Linked DNA regions of Homo sapiens: regions 1 and 3 are each linked to region 2. The links are contacts of gene promoters, found by promoter capture Hi-C in blood cells and fetal thymus (Javierre and others, 2016). All regions are on one chromosome and are shown on one strand. Each heading gives the region's core, a stretch centred on a gene start or on the middle of the fragment in contact. The rest is flanking DNA. Distances are from core to core; before and after follow the strand shown.

Region 1 (3,460 bases), core at 893-3,392, 340 kb before region 2:
GATAATCTGAAGAGCCCTGTATGTATTAAGTTAATGGACTTTGTCATTAAAAATCTTCCCGCAAAGAAAACTCCAGGCCCAGACGGCTTAACTTGTAAATTTAAGGAAGAACTAATACCAATTTTACGCAAACTGTGCCAGAAATTAAGAGAAAAAAACACCTTCCAACTCATGTGATGAAGCAAGCATTACCCTGATGCCCAAATCAAAGACATTTTTAAAATGAAAAGGAAAGCTACAGATTAATAGCCCTCATAAACACAGATGCAAAAATCCTTAACAGAATTTTAGCAAACTGAATCCTTCAATATATAAAAGTGATAATATCTTATGACCAGGTAGCATTTATTCCAGGAACACTAGGTTGTTTTAACATTTGAAAATCAATCAATGTAATTCAATTAATATATTCACAAAGAACAATTGTATGATCATCTCCATAGATGCGGAAAAAGTATTTGATAAAATTGATCACCTGTTCCTGTTAAAAACTCTTAGGAAACAGATTAGAAGTGATAACGAGCTTTTATTTTAAAAAAACCTACAACTAACATTGTACTTAATGCCAAAAGACTGAATACTTTCCCACTCGAGCCAGTAACAAGACAAAGATGTCCATTATTGTCACTTCTGTTCAGTATTGTACTGGATGCCCTAGTCATTGCAGTATTACAATAAAAAGAAATAACAGGCATACAAATTGGAAAAGAAGAAATAAAATGTTTTATTCACATACAACATGATTATATATGTAGAAATTCCTAATCGACAAAAAAGCTACTAGAACTGAAAAAAAAAGTTTAGCAAAGTTGCAGGATACAGCATTAATATATATAAATTACTTATATTTCTCTATACCAGCAATAAACAATGAGAAATTTAAAAAATTTTAAGACCATTTTTTTGACATAAAATATGAAATACTTAGGAATCAGTTTAAGAAAATATATGCAATATTTGTACACTGATAACTGTAAAATATTGCTGAGAAATTAAATAATATCAAAATAAATGGAGAGTATACCATATTAATGGAACATAATACTCAACAAAGTTAAGATGTAAATTCTCCCTAAATTGTTCTATAGATTCAATGCAATCTCAATCAAAATCCAGGGAGGTTTTTTCTTTTAGTAGAAATTGACCTGTAAGTTATATTCAAAAGGGCTAGTACAAGAGCTAATATAGTCGAAATAATTTTGAAAAATAAGACAAAGTTGGAACTACCTGATTTTAAAACTTACTCTAAAGCAAGATAGTGAGCTGTTGGTATAAGGATATACACAGAGTTCAAAAGAACAGAATAGAGAATCTAGAAATAGCACTATGTATATCTAAATAAACACATACACACAGTAGATTTTTGATGAGTGTGCCAAGATAATTCAGTGAAAAAAGGGTATTCTTTTTAGCAGATGGTGCTGGATTAATTGAATCTCCAAATGCAATAAAATGAAAATAAAATGAACCTGACCCTTACCTTAATACTGTATACACAGTTTAATTCAAAATGGATCCTAGGCCTAAATGTAAGAGCTAAAACTATAAAACTTCTAAAAGAAAATGTAGGAGAAAATATTTGTGACCTTGAGTTAGGCAAAAATTGCTTAGATCTGACAAAAGAAATCTTAAAACCTTAAAAGAAAATTTTGACAAATTTGATCAAAATTTAAAAATTTGCATTCATAAGATAGTGTTAAGAAAATAAAAAGGCAAACCTCAGCCGGGGAGCAAATATTTTCAAAACATATATGATAAAAGGCTTGTATCCAGATGTATTAACTTGTACAACTCAATAAATAACCCAATTAAATCCAATTGTTTTTGGGTTTTGTGGTTTTTTGTTTTTTTGTTTTTTTTTGTTTTTTTTTTTTGAGATAGGCTGTTGCTCTGTTGTCCATTCTGGAGTGCAGTGGTGCTGTCATGGCTCAGTGCAGCCTTGATCTCCTGGGCTTAAGCAGTTCTCCCACCTCAGCCTCCAGAGTAGCTGGGACTACAGGCTGGCTAATTTTTTATTTTTCGTAGAGATGGGGTCTCACTATGTTGCTTAGGCTAGTCTCAAACTCCTCGCTTCAAGCAATCCTCCCGCTTCAGCCTCCCAAGGTGTTGGGATTATAGGTGTGAGCCACAATGGCTGTCCCCAATTTTTTTGTTTTAAAGGTAGAAGATTTGAACACACTTCACTAAAGAAGATAAATAAGCACATGAAAATATCCAAATTAAAATGACAATGAGATACCACTATAAAATCACTAGAATGCCTAAAATTAACAAGATTGAGCAAACACATGTTGGTGAGGATGTAGAACAACTGGAACAAAGTACTGATCTATGCAACAATATGGAAGAATTTCAAAAGCATTACACTAAGTGAAAAAAGAGTGTCTATGATTGCATTTCTGTGACATTCTAGAAAGGCAACAATTGTGACAGCAGAGCAGTGGTTGGGAGGGTGCTGACTGCAAAGGGACACAGGGAGCTTCTCAGCATCATAGATAAATTAATATCTTAATTGTGGTGGTATTTAACTTGGCTGTAAACATTTGCCAAAACTTGGAATTGTACAACTAACACTGATGAATTTTATTTGTGTATACATTATGTCTCAGTAAAGCTAAATTTAAATAAAAATAGGCCAGGCATGGTGGCTCACACCTGTAATCCTAGCACTTTGGATGGCAGAGGCAGGCAGATTACCTGAGGTCAGGAGTTCGAGACCAGCCTGGCCAACATAGTGAAACCCCATCTCTGCTAAAAATACAAATTACAGATGGTGGGCGCCTGTAATCCCAGCTACTGAGGAGGCTAAGGCAGGAGAATCACTTGAACCCAGGCAGGGGCAGCGGTTGCAGTGAGCCAAGATCACACCATTACACTCCGGCCTGGGTGACAAGAGCAAAACTCCGTATCAAAAAATAAAAAATAAAAATAAAATCCAAGCCTTCAGTAGTTCTGTAAGCAACATCAACAGTGACTTCTTACGCAGTTCCTACTGCAGGCAGCACCAGCACAATGTGCTTGGGACTTTGGGTCACTGCACTTGGTAGATCTCAGCCGGCACCCACACCATTTCTCAGTTTACCCTGTAGATAGAACAGAACCCATTTGCAATAATTAACCAATGTGAAATGATCTCTACAAATGCTGTGTTTTGCTGTTTCAGGTGCTTAGGAGAACATGCAGTAGAACTTTTCATCAAACAAATGGAACACGTCACAGAATTTTGCTAACATGGACAACTCTGCACAGAAAAATGAACGCACTGGCAAACATCCCAGACGTGCCAGTGAAGTACAGAAAGGTACATGTGTCTTTGCAGGGAGGAGATAGCTCCTGACATATGCTTATTTTAGTACATAAGAGCAAATTTGGGGGGAATAGTAAGTCCTGGGTTATATCCACAGGGCCATCCTTACAGGCATACCAAATAGGTGGCTTTAGGCCCTACTGTTTCAAGTGT
Region 2 (3,099 bases), core at 573-3,072:
GTCTCAAAAAAACAACAACAAAAAATTGTAACTTATTCAAGCACCCCGGGGGACTAGGTGTGGGGGGAGCAGCAGAGGGTTACCCAACGGCCAGCCCCAGTCTCTGAAGGCTGACAGCTCTGTGCTTACCACCCCCAAGCCCACTACACTCTGATGTGTACCCCACAACAAAGTTCCCAGAACAGGGAAAAGGACTCTGGAGTTTGTCCTTTTCAGAACCGCAAAATCAATTTTGACCGAGAGAAGGGCCTGGTGGAAGTGATCATCCAGAACTTGTCTGAGGAGGACAAAGGGTCGTACACCGCTCAACTCCAAGATGGAAAAGCCAAAAACCAGATTACCTTGACACTGGTGGATGACGGTCAGCCATGCCCAGCCTCGCCCCGCCCAGCCCTGCCCCGCCCTGCCCCGCACACCTGGCCTGCCCTGCAGCCCTGAGTCCTCGGCTCTGCAGCCTGCTGAGCACAGCCCCCTCGACTTCTGTCCACCCCATGTCCCCTCTCCAGACCCACACTCCTCTCGGCTCATGCCAGTTCCTCCCTCTGTGTTCACAGATTTTGACAAGCTTCTGAGGAAGGCAGATGCTAAGAGAAGGGACTGGAAGAGAAAACAGGGTAAGAGCTGCTGGGGTGAAGTTCAAAATCCCTGGCCACTGGTTCGTGCTAGAGATGCTGGACTGCGGATTAATGGGAACCCCAGCCCTGCTGGGTCCCCAAGGGAGGTCCACTGTCATTCAGTCCAGTTCTGTCCCAGTGCCAGATCAAAATAGCTCTTGCCTGACCTGAGGGTGAGAGCTGAGCCCTCTTAAATTTTGCACCCTGAAGCCAGGCACAGTGCCCCACACCTGTAATCCTAGCACTTTGGGAGGCCAAGGTGGTCAGATCACTTGAGGCCAGGAGTTCAAGACCAGCCTGGCCAACATGGTGAAACCCTATCTCTATGAAAAATACAAAAATTAGCCGAGCATGGTGGCACACGCCTGTAATTCCAGCTACTCAGGAGGCTGAGCCACAAGAATCCTTGAAACCAGGAGGCGGAGCTTGCAGTGAGCCGAGATTGCGCCACTGCACTCTAGCCTAGGCAACAGAGCGAGACTCTGTCTCAAAAATAAAGAAAGAAAGAAAGAAGGAAGGAAACAAAGGAAGGAAGGAAGGAAGGAAGGAAGGAAGGAAGGAAGGAAGGAAGGAAGGAAGGAAAAAGAAAGAAAGAAGGAAAGAAAGAAAGAAAGAAAGAAAGAAAGAAAGAAAGAAAGAAAGAAGGAAAGAAAGAAAGAAAGAAGGAAAGAAAGAAAGAAAGAAAGGAAGGAAGAAAGAAAGAAAGAAATTTGCGCTCTGAGCACCGCCCCTGCCTCACCCCAGTCCCAGCCCTGGCAGAGGCAGCATCTGAGAAGTCCATAGCCATTAGCTGTCCCTCCCCCCAGCACTGCCTGGACACAGGTGGCACCCTGGCTGAGCCTGGCTCTCTGACAGTGGGCACATTTGTTTTGCACGCACAGGTCCCTATTTTGAGCGGCCGTTGCAGTGGAAGGTCACGGAGGACTGCCAAGTGCAGCTGACGTGCAAGGCAAGTCCTGCCCTGCCCTGCCCCCAGGCCCAGTGCAGGGGGACCTGTGGCTTGTCCCCAAGCCCAGTTGCTGTCCCTGCCCACCCGGCCCCCTAAATTCCATACTCTGTGCTTGGCTGATCGCACACACAGAAAGTACCCCCGAGGAGACCACACGTAACCCAAAAAGCAAACCCACCTTCCCAGCGCCCATGGGGTAGGATTCGTGTGAGGTGGACCAGCCTTGAACGAGATCCTAGTGGCTCCAGAAGGGGTTCTGAGGGGTCAGGGGGTCTAGGAGCCCACGAGGGTTTATATGTTGAGGGGTATCCCTGTGTTTATGATTACCCTGTGCTCAGAGACTCACAGTATTATTTCATCCGCCTCACAATCATCTGTGACACAGGCATTACTATCCTCACTTCATAGATGAGAAAACAAATGGAGAAATAGCTCAAGGCCACACGGTAAGAGGGAGAGCCCAGGTTTGAACAAGTCTATCTGATTCCAAAGCCTAAGGTCCTTCTTAGCACTCTTCAGCCTGTTTAGATAACTGGGGAAGGGGAGGGTGGGTGCTCTCCCAGAAGCATATTCATTCAGTAAACTCAGAGCATCTATTTTGTGCCACTCTGCACGGTACTGAACGTACAAAGATGATGAAGTGGTCTCTGTGGGCCTTGGGAGCCCATGTTCAAGGCAGGACCATTGGAAAACAGCATCCCTCATGCTTGACCCGGATGGGGCAGGACATTGATGAATCGTGATGGAGGGGGTGACTATGGGATGCTTCAAAAAAAAGGCTTCCTGGAGGAGATGACATTTAACTGAAGCACATGGACATTTCCAAGAAAAATAGAGTAAGGCAGGGATCAAGAGGCAGAGGGAAAACCATTAGCAAGAATTCAGAGTCCAGAGGCCAGCAGAGGAGACACATGGTATGTGAAAGGACTCCACTGAGATGCCTGAAAGTGTGCACAGGTGTGTTTTTACTCAAAAAGAAACAAGCCTGACAGAGTCTCCTCATTCCCCACCTTCCCCAGGTGACCAACACCAAGAAGGAGACTCGCTTTCAGTGGTTCTTCCAGAGGGCAGAGATGCCAGATGGTCAGTATGACCCAGAGACGGGAACGGGACTTCTCTGCATTGAAGAGGCAAGTGTGGCTCCAGCTTCAGGGCTCACTTTCTCCTTTGGCTGCAAGCCAGGGAGGGCCAAGAGCTCTGGGCTGGGAGTCAGGGCAGGGCCGAGGCTAGGTTGATGCAAGTGAGGCCCTGAGCACAAAATTTAAGAGGCACCAAAAAACTCAGTAATCAAGATAAATAATATTGTATGCAATATTCTAAAAAATCAAAATTAATGCAAAAAAACTATTAAAGCCCCCAAATTTTCAATAGAGACAGAATCAGTATTACTGATTTTTTTCTTTAGCTCCAGTACTGGCCCTGCCAATGACTGTGCAGGCTTGGGCTAGCCCCCGTCGCTCTCTGACCTCAGCTTTCATCTGCAACATGAGCGGGTTGGAAGGGATGCTCTTTCAACGCCTCCTTCCTGCCCCAACA
Region 3 (3,373 bases), core at 507-3,006, 490 kb before region 2:
ACCGCACGCGCCGCGGCTGGCTGGCTTGGCACCATGCTGCCTCCCCACAGCTCATCTCGGCCCCAGCCAGCACAGAGCCCAGCAGGGACAAGGTGAAGAAAGCCACAGGCCATGAAGGGGTCATGGGAACCCCCTTCCCATTTCCTCCTCCCCTCCCACCAGGCATTCATGGTCCTTTGGTGTCTCTTGGCTGCCCTTCTGTCCCCTCTCCCCACTTAGAGGACATGAGTAAAGGTATTGGCCTACCTAGAGTTCCTGCCCCATCATCCACTCCCACGGGCTGATGGGACTCAGGATTCCAGGGTATTATGTGCCCTCTTCTATCCCGGTGCTCTGGCTGTGCCTGTCACTTTCTACTACCACCACCAACACACACACGCACACACACGCACACACGTGCACACACCCACATGCACACACATGCACACAAGCGCACACACACACACATGCACACATACACACATGCACCATAAGAGGGGGTGCCTATAATCTGTTGCTCTTGGCTTCTGCTTATAACTGTTCCATCCACCTAGACCACTGTCTCTAGTATCCATACCCACCTCTTAGAACCAGCCATCTGTAAATTCACTATTTGTGCCAAGCATTGTACTTCATATGCATTCATTCATTCATTGGACAAATATGTATTGAGACCTACTGCATGCTGGGCACCGTGCTGGTGCTGGGGATACAAGGGTGAACCAAATAGGCATCATCCCTGCCCCCAAGCAGCTGCTAGCAGACATTAATAGCTCATGTTCATTGAGTGCCTACTATATACCCACCCTGTATTAAACACTTTATGAGTTATCTGATTTAATCTGTCAGAGAAATTGTTTCATTTAAGGAGCACATCAAACTGAAACATAGAGAAAAGTGTGGACTTGCCCGAGACTGTTGGACGGCCTTGGCTGAGGGGTAAAGCAGGGACTCCAAAGCGCTGCCCTAACCACCACCTTTCCTTTCCCTGCCCCACTCAGATGCCACCTCCTCCAAGGGGCCTTCCAGAATCTTCTCCCAGACTCAAGGGCTGCCTTGGTCTCTCTAATCCAGCCTTCATATTTGACACAGCCATCTCCTCCCACAAGGATACCCAGAGGACTGGAGCCGTCTCTGCATCCTTCCTCAGGAGCGCTGCTGGATGAGCGACCCCCGAGCCCCTCCAAACGTGCTGTGGATGGAAACTACGGCCCTGGGCTCCTTCTCTGCCGTGGGTTTTCATCTCGCTGAATCGCAGATCTTCCGGAGGGGCCTCTGCATAGGGCAGACCCATCAAGGCGCCCATTTAACAGATGGGGCGGATAAGGCCCCAAGTGGGTAAAAGTTCCTTTATCTCCAGGCCGGGTCAAGGTCGACTCCCTTTTCTTCCAGCGAGCCTCGGCCCCTCCGCCAGATGCTTGGGTGGGGAGGGGACAAGGAAACGACCTCGTCTCCAAGACCCACTGGAGATGATCAGCCTCCCTCCCACCACCCCGGACCAACGCCCTCCCGCGCAGACCCCAGGCACTTCCTCCAACAGATGTGGGGGTGAGACTGGGGACCCCTCGTCCCCACCCCCGGGCCCTCCTTCGCCCAGCGCGGCCGGCAGGTGGACAGGAAGCCACCGCACCTGGGCCGGACCGCTCCTCGCTCCCCGCAGCCCCGGGCAACCCCGGCGACCAGGCGCCTCCTACCTGCTCTGTCGAGCCCCGCTCGGCCTCCCGCCGGCACCGCCGCGCTCCCAGCCAGGGTCCCCGCCGCCGCCCGGCGCTGCCACCCTGGGATCCCGCCCCCGCCCGGGGCGTCCCGCCCCCGGCCCCGCCCCGTGCAGGTGATCCTGGGGAGGCCGGAGAACGCGCCGGGGGTGCCAGGGTCCCGCACACTGGAGTGGCGGCGCCTCCCCGTGGTGTCCCCGCTCCTGGGTCCTTTTTGGGACTGGCTCTGGCACTCCCGGGCACTCAGTCCAGTAGAGAAGTCCAGCAGGAGGCTTCCAGGTCGGACTCCTCCGCGGGGTAAAGAGAGGGAAAGGGCCTCACAAACACACCCAGGTGAGCTCCAGGCACTTTGAGTAGGGTCTTTAAAGGAGCACGGCGCTAATCTGATTGAAGGTTTTGAGGGGCAGCTGGAGATTCAGACAACCACAGAACGTTAGACCGGGAGGAAACAGGCTTGGCAGCCGGCAAGTGTCAAGAACTCTTGCCGCTGTAGGATCAAAGGCTCCTTCCTCCCCAGGCTGTCGAGATTCCAGCTGTATCCCAGGAGCCCAGGGCGATATCCCTGGCAGGCAGCGGGTACTCAATCAATATTTATAGAAAGCGGGAAGAGATCTCGGAGAGGGGATCTCTTCTCTCAGAAACAGGGAAGCTGAGGCCCAGGAAGCAAAGGTGAGCACAAAGTCTTATAGCAGGTTAGTAACAGTATCAGGAGTGGAGGCTGGTTTCCCGGTTCTATTTTCAATTGATTTCCAGAAAGTGATTGCATCTGGGCCGACTGCCTTGCCGCTCAGTGCCTGTGAGATGCTTTCAAACTCTCCTCAGCTAAGAACTAAGATTTTTATAGGAAGAAAACACGTATTTTTATAGGAAACTCCAAGGTAGTATTTATTTATTTATTTATCTTTGAGACAGGATCTCACTCTGCAGCCCAGGCTGGAGTGTGGTGGCACAATCTCGGCTTACTGCAACCTCTGCCTCCTGGTTCAAGCGATTCTCTTGGCTTAGCCTCCCGAGTAGCTGGGATTACAGGCACATGCCACCACACCCGGCTAATTTTTTTGTGTGTGTATGTATATATATATTTTGGTAGGGACAGGGTTTCACCATGTTGGCCAGGATGGTCTTCAACTCTTGACCTCAAGTGATCCACCAGCCTTGGCCTCTCAAAGTGCTGGATGAGCCACTGCTCCCAACCCATTTTATTTTATGGAGACTGGGTCTTGCTCTCCTGCCCCAGCTGGAGTGCAGTGGCGGGATTTCGGCTCACTGCAGCCTCTAACTCCTGGGCTCTAGCGATCCTCCCACCTTGGCCTCCCAAAGTACTGGAATTACAGGCATGAGCCACCATGCCCAGCTGCAAGGTGGTATTAACAAATATTGATTGAGAGTATAATCCTGTAATTCTACTTTCTCATCAAAGACTTGAGACACTTGAGTATGGTCTTTAAGGAGCATGGTGCTAATCCATGGCTTCAAGAGCTTCCCTGTTGTGGGGGAGGCAGACCTGGTTACAGGGAGAGGCCACAATGTGGGGAGAGGAGTCCAGTGGGAGCCTGCTCTGGCCCTGAGGCCTGAGTTCCACAGTAAATGGCACTGGGGGGGGCCACTTCAGGATGCTTCTGGAAGTTTTTCCAGGTTTGTTTGTGGGGGCAAGAGCCCCCAGTGCATGGTCTCAGGTT

What was found. Contacts are between HindIII fragments. The CHiCAGO score rates a contact against its expected background, and 5 or more counts as called.
Region 1: a fragment that was not itself captured here is called in contact with the fragment with the promoter of MYOM3-AS1 in region 2 in 1 of 17 cell types (M0 macrophages); the score reaches 7.4 in M0 macrophages.
Region 3: a contact is called between the fragment with the promoter of NCMAP here and the fragment with the promoter of MYOM3-AS1 in region 2, in 2 of 17 cell types (neutrophils and M2 macrophages). The highest score is 5.2, in neutrophils.

Annotation. Positions count from the first base shown.
Region 1 is chr1:24,401,160-24,404,619 of GRCh38, reverse strand. STPG1 (sperm tail PG-rich repeat containing 1) reads left to right here. Exons shown (of 9, transcript NM_001199013.2): 2 at 3,164-3,301. The coding sequence starts at 3,232. Among named protein-coding and RNA genes, the nearest start is that of STPG1, 11 kb to the left of the region's middle. The HindIII fragment of the contact is 5,003 bases long and covers 1-3,460 here.
Region 2 is chr1:24,065,485-24,068,583 of GRCh38, reverse strand. MYOM3-AS1 (MYOM3 antisense RNA 1) reads right to left here and starts at 1,822. Exons shown (of 3, transcript XR_001737930.2): 1 at 1,742-1,822. MYOM3 (myomesin 3) reads left to right here. Exons shown (of 37, transcript NM_152372.4): 26 at 217-361; 27 at 555-614; 28 at 1,496-1,563; 29 at 2,583-2,693. The HindIII fragment of the contact is 6,627 bases long and covers 568-3,099 here.
Region 3 is chr1:24,554,470-24,557,842 of GRCh38, reverse strand. It overlaps NCMAP (non-compact myelin associated protein), which reads right to left and starts at 1,756. Exons shown (of 4, transcript NM_001010980.5): 1 at 1,674-1,756. It overlaps NCMAP-DT (NCMAP divergent transcript), which reads left to right and starts at 1,819. Exons shown (of 3, transcript NR_109781.1): 1 at 1,819-2,027. The HindIII fragment of the contact is 15,304 bases long and covers 1-3,373 here.